4 separate regions of the Homo sapiens genome follow, and regions 2, 3 and 4 are each linked to region 1. The links are contacts of gene promoters, found by promoter capture Hi-C in human tissues and cell types (Jung and others, 2019). All regions are on one chromosome and are shown on one strand. The core of a region is centred on a gene start or on the middle of the fragment in contact, and the rest is flanking DNA. Distances in the headings are between cores, read along the strand shown. Region 1 holds the start of RPS16 (ribosomal protein S16). Region 2 holds the start of HNRNPUL1 (heterogeneous nuclear ribonucleoprotein U like 1). Region 3 holds the start of PSMD8 (proteasome 26S subunit, non-ATPase 8). Region 4 holds the start of SERTAD3 (SERTA domain containing 3).

Region 1 (3,508 bases), core at 637-3,136:
TAGAAGGCTGAACAGTAAGGAGCATTCCAATAGCTTCTGAAACTCCCAAGGCTGTTTCAAGTAGTCGAAAGCCATCCCTGGACTGTTCAGGTGCCTTTTCTATTTCCCACCTGAGCTCTCTGCCCTTTCTTTGAGCCTCACAGGTTTCCAGAATTACAGTACAACCTGTCCCTGGTCCCTAGACCCTTCCCAGCTCCAGGTCTTTTACCAGTGCCTCTGTCTGGATACTTCCTTTACCTGCTTTCAGCTCACAGGTCTCCTTCCCCAGTTCTGACCACTTTGGATCAGCTTCTGGTATTGGGCCCAGTCCTTCTCCCCAACTAGGCTGGCAGGTCCATGAAGGCAAGACCTTAAGTCATCTGGATCACTGCTATGTCCCCAAAACTCAACAGAGGGTACACATACAAATCCTTCAAATACAGTGACAGCCAATAACAGTAACATTCAACATCTGCTACACAAAGGAAATCTCAGAATTTTTATTAAATTCTAGGCCAGGCATGGTGATCACACCTGTAATCCCAGTCCAGGCAGAAGGATCACATGAGACCAAGGACCAGCCTGGGCAATAAAGTGAGACCCCACGTCTACAGAAAAATATTTCTCAAATGAGCCAGGCGTGGTGATGTGCCTGTAGTCTTGGCAACCGAAAGGCTGAGGTGGGAGGATCTCCAACTCAGGAGTTTAAGGCTGCAGTTCATTAGGATTGTGCTATTGCACTCCAGGGTAGGTGACAGCAAGATACTGTTTTTAAAAAAGAACCTTATAACTCAAAAAAAATTTTTTTAACTGACCCTGCAATGTAGATATTCTTTCTTTTAAAAGTAGTAGAGTTCAGAAGGGGCAGAAATCAGACTCTGGTTTCTTTCCATTCTGAGCCAAAGAAATTGAGAGTCCCAAAAAGGGAACAGAGGAACCCCTTTTACAAGCAAGCATTTAAACAGACCCAAATTCGGCCGCACACGGTGGCTGACGCCTGCAATCCCAGCACTTCGGGAGGCCGAGGCTGGTGGATCACCTGAGGTAATGAGTTCGAGACCACTCTGGCCAATATGGCGAAACCCCGTCTCTACTAAAAATACAAAAATTAGCCGGGCGTGGTGGTGCATGCCTGTAATCTCAGCTACTCAAGAGGCTGAGGCAGGAGAATCGCTTTAACCCGGGAGGCGAAGGTTGCAGTGATCCGAGATCGCGCCACTACACTCCAGCCTGGGCGACACAGCGAGACTCCCTCTCAAAACAAATAAATAAAATAAAAAATAGTCGGTGTCCCTTCACCCTTTGGGTCCCCCCGCCCCAGTGAGGTGAGCTTCCTAACATCCCAGTTCTCAAAGCAAACCCTTAATCTTCAACAACCCCATCTCAGCTTTTACATCTTCTGAACCCCAAGCCCAGCTCTATTGCCAAATACCCCACTGTTCTACACCCAACACAACTTCTAAACATCCCGTTGCTGATGCCAGCCCCCCCAGCTTTCAAGAGCTACAACATCTCTGTCTCCAAGAGTCCTCCATCCACTCAACGCCGGTGCCGGATCCCAGCACCTTGTACTGTAGCGTGCGCGGCTCAATCATCTCCAGGGGCCGCCCGTTCACCTTGATGAGACCATTGCCGCGTTTGCAGTGCGCCACAGCTGTCGCTGTCTTCTGTAAGATACAAGAGAAACAGGGGCCCCGTGAGCTCCGGCTCCAGCTCCCATGTTACCCCCTAGATTCCTGCCCACCGACCTCTCCCAGACCCTGGCCTTCTCCTTCCCCTCCCCTTCCCATCCGGCGTCTGGCTCACCTTGCGTCCGAAGACCTGCACAGACTGCAGCGGGCCCTTGGACGGCATGGCTCCGAGCGTGGACTAGACAACCTCACCGCGCGGCGCCGCAACCGGAAAAGGAAAGCTAGGGGCCACCCTGGCCGCTTTTCAGGGTCTGCGCAGGCGCCTTGAGCACTGCGTCGCGACGGGAGAGAGCTTTACGGCTTCTGTTGCGGCTAACGGGCGGGGCGTCTGGTCAGCGGCGGGAAGGCCCTTAGGCGCTCAGAGCGGGCGGGCCCTGTGAGGCGGAAGTGGCGGGCTCTGTGGGCGGAAGGGGCGGGGCCTGGGAGTGTCGTGTGCGGACTGAAGGGAAGGCTGCGGGAGTGTGCTTCGCGTCCTCTGTAGTCGACTACCGCAGCTCTTCTTTGCATTCTGGCTCTTTAATAATCTCCCTTCGCCCTTTCTTTAAATCAGTTCCCACCCTCCCAACACCTGTAATCTTTCTCCCCTCTGGACTCCCTCCTCCCCGAATCCCCCGCATCAGAATCTTCCTTTGGAATCTACTGCAAGAAATCTGGCTGGATTCTCAGATTAAGGACTTCCAGAATCCTATCCTCCCTAGAATCCCCCTCCTTGGGGATCCTCTCCCAGAATCCTTTTCCCCTCAGAGCCCCTTCCCCTCAGAATCTCCCTTTCACCAGAATGTCCTTCCTTTCAGTTTCCTCTTCCCAGAATGTTTCCCATCCTTCTCTCAGATGGCCAACCCCAAATGTCCCTCTTAAGAGTGCTCAACTTAGACCCCCCTTTTCCCTGAATCTCCCTCCATTCGGTCCTCGTCCCCTCAGTCACCCTTCCCAGAATCTTTCTCTTGTCAGGACCCAGTACCCCTGGAATCTCCCTCCTCCAGAATCTCCCTTTCCCGGCAAATCCCCCTTTCCCGGCAAATCCCCCTTTCCCAGAACACCCCGCCCCGCAAATCCACAAAAACTTTTCTCTCAGAGACCCGTCCCTCAAAATCTACCTTTCTCCTGAGTTTATTTCCCTTCCGAGACTCCTCTTCCCAGCAACTGCCTTCCCTGGAGTTTTCCCTCCGTTAGAATCCCCCTCTCCTAAGAGACCCTCCCCCAAGAATTAACCTCTTCCCCGTCCCCACCCTAGAATCTCTCTCTTTTTTTTGAGACGGAGTTTCGCTCGTTGCCCTGGCTAGAGTGCAGTGGTGCGATCTCGTCTCACTGCAACCTCCGCCTCCCGGGTTCAAGAGATTCTCCTGCCTTAGGCTCCCGAGTAGCTGGAATTACAGGCGTCTACCACCACGCCCTGGTCGTTTTTTGTATTTTTAGTAGAAATGGGGTTTCACCACGTTGGCCAGGCTGGTCTCGAACTCCTGACCTCAGGTGATGTGATCCGCCTCAGCCTCCCAGAGTCCTGGGATTACAGGCGTGAGCCACCACGCCCGGCCGAATCTCTCTGTTTTTTGTTTTTTTTTTTTCTTTTTTTTGAGACAGAGTCCTGCTCTGTCGCCCAGGCTGGAGTGCAGTGGCATGATCTCTGCTCACTGCAACCTCTGCCTCCCCGGTTAAAGCGATTCTCCTGCCTCAGCCTCTTGAGTAGCTGAGATTACAGGCATGCACCACCACGCCCGGCTAATTTTTGTATTTGTAGTAGAGACGGGGTTTCACCATATTGGCCAGACTGGTCTCGAACTCCTGACATCAAATGATCCACTCATCTCAGCCTCCCAAAGTGCTGGGATTACAGGCGT
Region 2 (3,508 bases), core at 739-3,238, 1.8 Mb after region 1:
GTGGCCGGCAGCAAATGGAGAAACCCTTGGCAGCGCCCGGACGCCCTCCAGTGGCGGCTCCTGAGAACCGGGGACAGTTCAATCCGGGCCACAAACTTTTTTAGAACAAATCATTGTGGGAAGCTGGGAGGAGAGAGAGAGAGAGGAAGTCGGACGTGGGCGAGGGGCGGGGTGTCTGGACTGGAACCTCTGGGCCCACGTGAGTGTCTGTCCCGCTGCTGAGTGGGTGCTGTGTGTTTGGGTTGCTGTAGTGTTCGCTTGTAGTGCAACTATCCTGTGTTATCTTTATTATTCGATGCCGCCTGCCTCTGCGGACCGTAGTGGGCACATCTACACTGCAGCGGGGTGCCTTACCCAAAGCAGATCGGAATTGGGGCCGGGCGCGGTGGCTCACGCCTGTAATCCCAGCACTTTGGGAGGCCGAGGCGGGCGGATCACTTGAGGTCAGGAGTTCGAGACCAGCCTGGCCAACATGGTGAAACCCCGTCTCTACTAAAAATACAAAAATTAGTCGGGCATGGTGGCGGGGACCTGTAATCCCAGCTACTCGGAAGGCTGAGGCAGGAGAATCGCTTGAACACGGGAGGCGGAGGTTGCGGTGAGCTGAGATAGAGGCCCTGCACTCCAGCCAGGGTAACAAGAGCGAGACTCCGTCTCAAAAAAAAAAAAAAAAAAAAAAGAACAACAAAAAAAAGAACTGGATGCGTCTGATCTGACGCACGCCTGTTTGTTTACGACTGCGGGGTGTGCCTTTGTCTGAGTAGAGATAGTGTGTGGCTTTTGCGGGCTTAACGTGTGGCTCAGGAGGCAGTGGGAGTCTGCATCATGTATCCCGATTGCGTCTTACTCGAGTTTTGTTTTGAGTTAGAGGCGACAGGTGGTGCAGCGTTAGACACTGGGAAGCTCTGTGGCTTTTGTATTCCTGAGCGCGAAGGTTAATGACGGATCCGTGGGGTTGAGCTTGTCGGTACAGACGCCAGACAGCCCGATTTACGGGAACAGCCGATTAGAGGATTCGGGAGAGCGGTCGGTGAACTTCTGGATGTCTTTCGGGAGGGGAAGGCTCTATGGTCGCGTGCAGAGCGCCCGTTCCACGTCAGGTACCCGACCATAGAGCAAGGCGGCCGCGGACTACCCAAGGGAAGGGGAGGCCGTGTCCTTTACAACTTGCCTCCCGTTGTTAGTCTAGTTTCTATAGCCAAACCTTCGGGACTCTCTCAACTCAAAATTTTGCTTTTCCTAAAGGCAACTGGGTTCCTTCCAGATTACGAACTGTGTATCCACTTAATCTCTATTTCGTATACCTCCTCCTACAGCGAAATTTGTGAGGCAGTCCTCTGAAGCACGGCCAATCTGGTGAACTTTTCCTAAAATGAGCCATCGCTACCAGCTTTAGTGAGCTAAGACAATAACTGCGATTGGTGGGCAGATTGTTTTGAAACCGCCCTAACGGCAAGGGGCGGGCTCCTGGTGAATTCATCTCTTTCCGGTTTCTTAAAGGCAACAGGAAGGAGGGGTTTCTGCCGACCCTCCATTTGATTGGTTCTAGTGGTTTTACCCGCTCGGACTCCTCAAGGGGCGGGAGATGTACACCAATCGGAATGTGTGTTACAGAGACACTTAGTTTGATGAAAGGACTGCGCAGGAAAGGCCGTGGGACACTCATTCTGAGATCTTACCGTTGATTGGACCAAATTGTTACTCCCTTATTTTCATTGGACCTTACGGCAGCCGGCGCGCGAGAGTTACCCAATCAGCAAGCGCTCCGCCTCCTGCCTTTTCCCGCCCTCCGCTCCGGCCTCGGCTTCGACGTAGGCCAACGCTTCCTCCCCAGTAGCTCCTAGGCCTTCTCGTGGCCGTTGTTTTGAAAACGGCGCTCTGATTGGCTAGGTTTCCGGGCCCGCGCCCGTTGCCCCACGCACTGACCAATTGGCACTCATGTAACATCGGACGAGGCACGAGTGAGGGGGGAGGCGGTGGCGGCGGCCATTTTGAGCCGCTGCCGCCATTGGAGTGGGCCCCCCCCCTTTCCCCCTTCGCCTCCTGACAGGAAAGGTTTAAGGGGGACAGAGCCCTGGGAGGCCGGGCCGGGCTCGGGGGCCACCCCGGGGGCCCGGGCCATGGATGTGCGCCGTCTGAAGGTGAACGAACTTCGCGAGGAGCTGCAGCGCCGCGGCCTGGACACTCGAGGCCTCAAGGCCGAGCTTGCTGAGCGGCTGCAGGCGGCGTTGGAGGCCGAGGAGCCTGACGACGAGCGGGAGCTCGACGCCGACGACGAACCGGGGCGACCCGGGCACATCAACGAGGAGGTCGAGACCGAGGGGGGCTCCGAGCTGGAGGGGACCGCGCAGCCACCGCCGCCCGGGCTGCAGCCGCACGCGGAGCCCGGCGGCTACTCGGGGCCGGACGGACATTGTGAGAGTGCGCGGGGCGGGGGCCGGGGAGCCCGGAGCCTGGGCCGAGGAAAGGGCTGTGGGACGCGGGAGTCCAGCGCCTGAGGTCGGGGAGACGACCTGAGGATCGGGGGATCCCGCTACCCGCCGCCGAAAAGGATCTGGGGACCAGGGCCCCAGCACGACCGGAGGGTGGATCCTGACACTCAGTGCAGGGGGGACACTGGGGGAGGGGCCTCTGGGTTTCGGAGGTGAGGGACGGGGGTGGCGGGGAGGATTCCGTACCGTAGGGATCGGAGACCGGAAACTGCTTTCTGGAGCCGAAGAGAGTCGGAAGAACAAGAGGTTTTCCGTTTGGGTTGGGGAGGGTCTCGAAAATGGGGATCCTAGGGTACGGAGCTCCGTGGGCTTGGCGGTCGTGCTAGCCCAGCGTGTGGGCTGGGGGGTGGGGAGCCGTGTTTCCAGGGTGGGGAAGGAATGTCCAGGTGTGCGGGGCTGCGAGAGTTCTGAGGAAGGAGGATCCTGGAATATGCCGCTGGATGCGATCCTGGGCGTTCTCCTATTTGGGTACGGGGGTGGGTGGGAGAGGTGGAGGCGCTGGTGTCTGTGGCTGGGGAGGGTCCTAATGGACTCAGTGCTTTGGAGTTTGGCTAGTGAGCATTTAGGGGCTGCGGGAGATTGAACTAGGGGGCACCCCCATCTCTCTTCCGGGGCTGGAAGGCCACCCTTGAAGCAGGCACAGCCTGGACATTAGGTGCTGGGAGATCTGGGGACTTTCTGGTTGGCTTCTAGAAGAGGTATAGGGAGCCCTGGTGTCCAGAGGCTGGCGGGGGAGAGGATGCTTTCCTGGACAAAGGATCTGGGGGTCTAGAGCTAAGAAAACTGAGGGCAAATAACTCTTGAGGCTGCTGCTGACTGGTCTGGAGCTAACTGTGGGGTTTTTGGAGAACAGAGGGTAGCTGGGGGTGGGATGGGGGCAGATGAGTTGGTAACATTCCAAGTGGATGAAATATGTGGCGGGAGACAGAGGATCCTGTGTCCAGCACAGGAGTACGTATCTGGCTTAGCGAATATGGGGAGGGGGGAGGCCGTAGGGAGCAAAGAGAAAGAAACCT
Region 3 (3,508 bases), core at 475-2,974, 1.1 Mb before region 1:
ACAGACTTGAGCCACCACACCCGGCCATCATTTTTGTTTAAAACATTTTTTACCACCACAACTTCTTTCACATATTAATTTACTCATTAATTCAACACATATATAATTTCTTTCTTTTTCTTTTTTTCTTTTTTCTTTTTTTTTTTTTGAGCACAGTCTCGCTCTGTCACCCAGGCAGGAGTGCAATGGCGATCTCAGTTCACTGCAACCTCTGCCTCCCGGGTTCAAGTGCTTCTCCTGCCTCAGCCTCCCAAGTAGCTGTACTACAGATGTGCACCACCACGCCCGGCAAATTTTTGGTATTTTTACATTTATTTATTTATTTTCTCTGAGACAGAGTCTCACTCTGTCACCCAGGCTGGAGTGCAGCGGCACAATCTCAGCTCACTACAAGCTGACCTCCTGGGTTTAAGCGATTCTCCTGCCTCGGGCTCCTGAGTATCTGGGATTACAGGTGTGTGCCACCACGCACAGCTGGTTTTTTTGTTTTTTTTTTTTGGTATTTGCAGTACAGATGGGGTTTCGCCATGTTGGCCAGGTTGGTCTCGAACTCCTGACCTCAAGTGATCTATCTGCCTCGGCTTCCCAAAGTGCTGGGATTACAGGCATGAGCCACCATGCCTGGCCAACAAATATTTATTGACTGTCTACTAATATTTGCCAAGCACTGAGATACTGGGAATTCAGTAGTGAAGGAAATCGTCCTGCCTTCATGGAGATGACATTCTAAATGGTGGAGACGGAGAGTGAAAGTCGGGTTTGAGAAAAACGTGCTGCCCAGGCGCAGTGGCTCACACCTCTAATCCCAACACTTTGCGAGGTCAAGGCAGGAATATCGCTTGAGCTCAGGAGTTCGAGACCAGCCTGGGCAGTATAATGAGACTCTGTCTCTATAAAAAATTTAATTTTTTTTAAAAAGAGAGAAAAAGCGATGTTGAATGTGCAGATGTAATATCAATCAGTGGAGGAAGAAGTTGGTATAAGAAGTTGTGAATACTGGCCAGGCAAGGTGGCTCATGCCTGTAATCCCAGCATTTCGGGAGGCCAGGGCCCAGGGAATCGCCTGAGTTCAGGAGTTGGAGACCAGCCTGACCAACATCTACTAAAAATACTAAAATTACGTCTCTACTAAAAATACGAAAATTAGCCAGGCGTGGTGGCACATGCTTGTAATCCCAGCTACTTGGGAAGCTGGGGCAGAAGAATCACTTGTACCCAGGAGGCGGAGGATGCAGTGAGCCAAGATTGCTCCATTGCACTCCAGCCTGGACAACAAGAGCTAAACTCCGTCTCAAAAAAAAAAAATTGTGAATCCTCCACTTACACATGACATTGAAAGCCATAGAGCTGGATGAGTTTTGTAACTAGTTAGTTCATATAAGCTTGGGAAAAAAATGTGGAAGGATGCATTGAAAAAGACTGGAGAGGGAGCCCCAGGTACACATCCTAGCTGTTAGTCCTTTGGAAGGTTACCCAGCCTCTCAGTCTGTCTATAAAATGAGAATAACACAGCTCTCCAAATGGCACGACACCCGCTACCTTTTGGCTTGGAGACGCTGCCCCGAAGGCGGAACCTCCAGGACAGCTACGTAGCGTCCCGAGCACTCAGACTGAAGCCAGGGCAGCCATGTTCATTATTGGAACCGTGAGGTGGGTAGGGGGGGTGGTGTTGAGACAGCTGTCATTTTCAGTTAGGGCAAAAGCCAACTTCCGGTCACCATCTTGAGTGACGACAGAGGCGGAGCTCCAACTGACATGTTCATTAAGGGCAGGGCTCCGAGGGCGCCACCTCGAGAGCGACGGCGGGCTACCCGGGGCGGGCTGAGGCAGGTTGTAGCCCCGCCCCGGGCCTTGGGCTCCACCTCTCGGCCCCACTTCCGCCGGGCAAGCGTTTGTAGGCGGCGCTGCCGTAAATCAGGCGGTCTGCTTGCCGCATCACGCAAGATGGCGGCCGCGGCGGTGAACGGGGCGGCAGGCTTCTCGAGCTCCGGGCCCGCGGCAACCTCGGGCGCTGTTCTGCAGGCCGCGACCGGCATGTACGAGCAACTCAAGGGCGAGTGGAACCGTAAAAGCCCCAATCTTAGCAAGTGCGGGGAAGAGCTGGGTCGACTCAAGGTAAAGTCGGCAGGCCCAGGAAACCGAGTGTTGCGGGCGTGGGAGGCGCTACGAGGTGTCTGGACCCAACCAAGTCCCGGGCCGCGGAAGCCACCTCGGTGCCAGCGAGACTGAGGCGGGCTGGGGGATCCGATGGGGTGAAAGATTTGGAACAGCCAAAGTGGGGGCTCGGAGGGCGTCAAGAAGCGAGAGAGGGACAGGGAGCGTTGATGGTCACGCCTGTAATCGCAGCGCTTTGGGAGGCCGAGGCGGGGGAGCGTCGCTTGAGCCCAGGAGTTCAAGATCAGCCTGAGCAACATAGCGAGACTCTGTCTCTACATTTTTTTTTTAAGTGAGAGATGACTGGAATGGACCCACGCGGGGGTGGTGGGGGAATGATTGGAAGACTTATGGCAGAACTGAGTGAGGGGTTAGATTTTTGGTGCGTGGAGGCTTAACTGGTCGGAGTGGCAGGATTGGGATTCGGGCTTTTCCTGATGGTGGATTCCAGGCAAGACCAAGTGGGAAGTGAGGACTGCCCGGAGTGATAAAAGAATGAGGCTGAAAAGGTGGGCTGTGTAGAGGGTGTGTGGTTAAGACCAGGCTGGGTTAGGATCTGAGAGATCTGGGGCTTAGGCTCGCATCTGTTGGGAGAGGGGGCAGCCTAGTTGTGAAGGCAGGACTGAACCTAGAAGAAATATTCTTACAAGTAGAGAACAAGAATACGGGGCCCAGAGTGCTTCAGACCAAACATCTGTTGGGAGGGAGTGTAAATCCAGTGGCTTGGAACAAGCTGCTGAGCCTGCTAAGGAAAGATGTATGGGCTGAACTGTGGGGGGAGATTTGGACCTCCCCCTCCCAGATATAGATTTTGGGGATAGCCCAGCTACCCCTTCCCCAATAGATTGTGGGGAAGATGGGCCAAGAATGGAATGTACTCCTGTCCCCACCGCCGCGTGATTCCACTGGGTCAGGCACTGAGTGTCCCTCCTTGTTTCCCCAGTGGGGCTATTAATAATTGTAATGTGATGTAATCTTAAATGGGCATGTGTTGCGTGCTCAGGCCCTGTTCTGAGTGCTTTATGAGAAAGCATTCCTCATGAGTCTGGATGATGGTTAGCTCCATTTTCCAAGTGGGAAGACCAGAGCGTAGAGCAGGTAAGTCATCTGTATTTGAATTCCCTTCTTTTCTTTCTTCCCTCCCTCCCCTCCCCATCAGCTAGTTCTTCTGGAGCTCAACTTCTTGCCAACCACAGGGACCAAGCTGACCAAACAGCAGCTAATTCTGGCCCGTGAGTGTCACTGGGGTTGGTTGGGGGTGATAATCTGGGGGTCATGGCAGGAATGGTAGCACTGGTGGTTGGGGAAGAGACCTCAGTCACCTCCTGAGAGCTCACTCTGTCACCCACAGGTG
Region 4 (3,508 bases), core at 443-2,942, 1.0 Mb after region 1:
TGTCAAGGAGATGCCACGTATCTATAGGGCCCACCACACCGGAAGTGCTTAATGAACAAGAGTTGTGTTTGTTTTTTGTTAGAGACAGGGTCTCGCTCTGTCGCCCAGGGCTGAGTGCAGCAGCGCTATCACAGCTCACTGCAGTCTCGAAGTCCTGGGCTCAAGCGATCCTCCCGCCTCAGCTTCCTGAGTAGCTGGGATTACCACCACACCCGGCCTCGATCAAGAGTTAATTGCCAGTTATTCGCTCAACAGATTTACTGAGTGCCTACTATATTCGAAATCTCCTGGAGCCCTGTTGGGGAACCTATGTTGAGATTCTTCTTCAACAGTCGGGATATTTCTATGTCCTCTTCCTTAACCGACTGGGAGCGCTCCCAAGAGTAGGAAAGGGGCCTGTCTCATTCCCTCTGCCCACGCTTTCAGATTCCCCCAAAGCGCGCCCCATAGGAAAACTTGCTAGAACTCAGCTCAGACCAAGCCCCGCCCCCTCGGAGGTCCCACTCAATCAGACCGCGACACTGTAAGGCCCCGCCCCCCCATGGGTCCTTACAGAGCATCCAGGAACGCCCCAATTTGGCCCAGGGGCTTCTGGGAAACGGGGGCCAACAGCCGCCAGGTACACGAATTGACGTCGAGCACGCACTACAATCCCCAGAGGGCTCCGCCCGTCCAGGGGACGAGCCACCCCCCTCACCCCGCTCTCCCTCAGGGCATGCGCACAGGGGCACAGGCGGGTGGGGGAAGGGAACCTGGACGTCCAGCTGCCGGCGCCTGCCGAGCCCCGCCCTCCATTGCCTCCGGGGCCGCGAGTCTGAGCTCCAGGCCCGGAACACCCCTCCCCCACCCCAGACTCCGGCTCTAAATTTGCTTTCTCCCGGTCCCTCTGTTCCTTGAAAGTCCGCGATTCTCCTTCCAAACTGCCCTTGGATCCAGAGACCCAGATCCGAACACATCGCTCAAAGACGACAATGCTCCGATCTAGTTCGGGAGACTACGTATCCTAATTCTGATACTTCCTCCCACTTCTCCTAGTCTCCTGACTTTCAAACGCCCCTGGACTTCACCTCCAAACTCGCTGTCCGGCTCCAAGACCCGAACATTGAACTCTTCCCGGCAACCTCCTTCCCCCGCCAGTGCGTCTTGGAGTCCCAAGAATCCTTGACCCTAGTTCTCTCGCTTCTCCAAATACTCAGAATCTCAGCTCCGTACCTCTCACACCTTTTCCAGAACACGATAAAGCCCCGAATTCAACCCGTCCGGAAGACCCAAGTGGAATCGAATCTCCAGGTTCCCTGTCTCAAAAGTTCCTCCCCTCTGTTCTCTCGCTTCTCCAAAAGCCCAACGTCCCAGCTTCAAACTCCCTCCACTTGAAAATACTGCCCCAACAACCTCGCCTCCCCTCCTGGGTCTTGAACTCAGTCTCAGGTCCCCAGACCCTCCCTATCATCACCCTGAATCTGAGGCCCCCTCCCCCGGTCCCACCCAGACCCCGCCTCCGCAAGTCCCCGGGGCGCGCTTCTCTCTCCCCCAGCCTAAGGTAAATTCCCAAGCCAGGCGACCACTCCTCACCGCAGCTGCCAGGTTCGCCACGACCACCTCCTGGAACGCCCACAGCGTTGCGACCCGCCAGTGCCAGGACCCACCAGTGACCGGTTGGAGCCTCGCTCACCTCGGCGGGGCCTCTCCGTCTGGCCTCTGGCCCACCAGCCCCGCCCCGGAGCCGAGCCGCGAGCCGCGATTGGCTGGAGTCCCGCCCGCCGCGGGGCGTCGATTGGCTGGGCGGAGCCATCCGCCCGTGCCCCGAGACGCCGGATCCGCCCACCCCTCCCTAGCGCCCCGGGCCATTTAAAGAAGTGCAACTGGCAGGGGGCGGGGCAGCGACTCCGGGGTGGAGGGCGGCCGGTCCAACAGAACCGCTTCCTTCCACTCAGCTACAGTCCTCGCTCCAAGATCGTCACCATTGCTCCCTGCGGTTCCTTTATGGTAGGCCTGGACTCCACCGTGGAGCCAGAGGGGCTGGCATGCCCCTCCCCAAGTCGCTGTGCAGGCGGGCGGGGCCGAGCAACCGGAGGAGGCCGCGCCCCCGGGGTTCCGAGGGAGGACGCTGGGGCGCGGGGGATGACGTAGCGGAAGACCAGCCAATAGAGTGGCGCGGCCCGCGTTGCCTAGGCGATCGTAGCCTCGCCCCCTTGCTGCCCCTCCCGCCCCCTATACGTTACCGCGCGGCCCCTTCTTAATCCTCAGGTTTTCTCAGCACGTCCTCTGGTGGTCCCACCTGGGTCTTCTGACACCCTCTTTCCTTCCCCGCTCCATCAAGATGACTCCTCTGCTACTGTTCATGGCTTCCTACCCACCCCGAATACAAACTTCAAACTCCTTCCTTTTGCCACAAAGCCCCTCACGACCTTGCTTGATGCGTTCTCCTGGTTCTCTCCGATCCTGCCCCATTGAGTCACTTCCAGTTTTTCTAAAATGGCTTCAAGCTCCCATTCACCCCATCAGGAAAACGAAAGGATTTTCTCTGTTTGTTTTCTTCCCTGCTTTACCCCAGTGTCTACAACAATGCCAGGTACATAATAAGTTCGCAAACATGACAATAAAAGGCCTCTGGATCTTTATTATTAATATTATTTTTTGCCGGGCGCAGTGGCGCACGCCTGTAATCCCAGCACTTTGGGAGGCGGAGGCGGGCAGATCACTTGAGGTCAGGAGTTTGAGACCAGCCTGGCCAACAATGGTGAAACCCCGTCTCTACTAAAAATACAAAAATTAGCTGGGCGTGGTGGCGCACGCTTGTAATCTCAGCCACTTGGGAGGCTGAGGCAGGAGAATCGCTTGAACCTGGGAGGTTGAGGTTGCAGTGAAGGCGAGATCGTGCCACTGCACTCCAGCCTGGGTGACAGAGAGATGGGGGAGGGGGGAGGGGGGTTTTCTTGTGTTGCCCAGGTTGGTTTTGAACTCCTGGCCTCAAGCAATCTTCTCGCCTCTGGATATTTAAACTTGTTTCCTCATCCTCAAAATATACCCTCAATTCCCAGGCTGCTTCTCAGAACACATTTCAAAGGTTTCCTCCTCTCCGAAGCCCTCCCTGGCAGTCCAGGTTGGGTTAGGATCCATTCTAGGATTCCATGGCCTCCTGTGCCGCCATCCCAGTCCTGGACTGTCAGTTACTATATGGACTGAGGAACGCCCCGCCGAGGGCAGGTACCAAGGATATCTCTGTCAACCACCTCTTGGTCTGCAGGATCACCTAGCACAGGGCTGGACACGTAGCAGGTCCCAGTGAAAGTTTGCTAAATGCTCAGGAATGTGACAGAAAAATAAGGCAGAAAGAAGACACTGCTAGTGTCCTGAAAGCCCACACCCGTAATGCTCCGCCCCTACAACGAGTTTCCCTAAGGGGAGGAGGCAGTTTTCTCCAGGCCACCTCTGGGAAGGGAGGTTTAAGCCTCCTCAGACCAGTTCTTGCCGGTTGGAGTTTGTCAACCAAGTCATCCTGATGTTT

The links. The method cuts DNA at HindIII sites, captures the fragments that hold promoters and counts their contacts. A contact is called where the count stands out against the background at its distance.
Region 2: the fragment with the promoter of HNRNPUL1 here is called in contact with the fragment with the promoter of RPS16 in region 1 in 1 of the 25 tissues and cell types used here (small bowel).
Region 3: a contact is called between the fragment with the promoter of PSMD8 here and the fragment with the promoter of RPS16 in region 1, in 2 of the 25 tissues and cell types used here (heart right ventricle and liver).
Region 4: a contact is called between the fragment with the promoter of SERTAD3 here and the fragment with the promoter of RPS16 in region 1, in 1 of the 25 tissues and cell types used here (thymus).

Annotation. Positions count from the first base shown.
Region 1 is chr19:39,434,063-39,437,570 of GRCh38, forward strand. RPS16 (ribosomal protein S16) reads right to left here and starts at 1,887. Exons shown (of 5, transcript NM_001020.6): 1 at 1,786-1,887; 2 at 1,545-1,646. The coding sequence starts at 1,833. RefSeq lists enhancers at 1,081-1,660, 3,324-3,508 and a silencer at 2,041-2,140. The HindIII fragment of the contact is 40,426 bases long and covers 1-3,508 here.
Region 2 is chr19:41,262,384-41,265,891 of GRCh38, forward strand. HNRNPUL1 (heterogeneous nuclear ribonucleoprotein U like 1) reads left to right here and starts at 1,989. Exons shown (of 15, transcript NM_007040.6): 1 at 1,989-2,415. The coding sequence starts at 2,121. RefSeq lists enhancers at 1-64, 421-960, 961-1,500, 1,501-2,039 and silencers at 2,045-2,284, 2,375-2,444, 2,465-2,514. The HindIII fragment of the contact is 10,725 bases long and covers 1-3,508 here.
Region 3 is chr19:38,372,847-38,376,354 of GRCh38, forward strand. It overlaps PSMD8 (proteasome 26S subunit, non-ATPase 8), which reads left to right and starts at 1,725. Exons shown (of 7, transcript NM_002812.5): 1 at 1,725-2,115; 2 at 3,314-3,386; 3 at 3,506-3,508. The coding sequence starts at 1,756. RefSeq lists enhancers at 1,634-2,264, 1,895-2,034. The HindIII fragment of the contact is 16,024 bases long and covers 1-3,508 here.
Region 4 is chr19:40,442,643-40,446,150 of GRCh38, forward strand. It overlaps SERTAD3 (SERTA domain containing 3), which reads right to left and starts at 1,693. Exons shown (of 2, transcript NM_203344.3): 1 at 1,573-1,693. It overlaps SERTAD3-AS1 (SERTAD3 antisense RNA 1), which reads left to right and starts at 1,875. Exons shown (of 2, transcript NR_187496.1): 1 at 1,875-1,986; 2 at 2,248-2,621. RefSeq lists silencers at 540-919, 1,385-1,444, 1,625-1,944, 2,005-2,224. The HindIII fragment of the contact is 14,341 bases long and covers 1-3,508 here.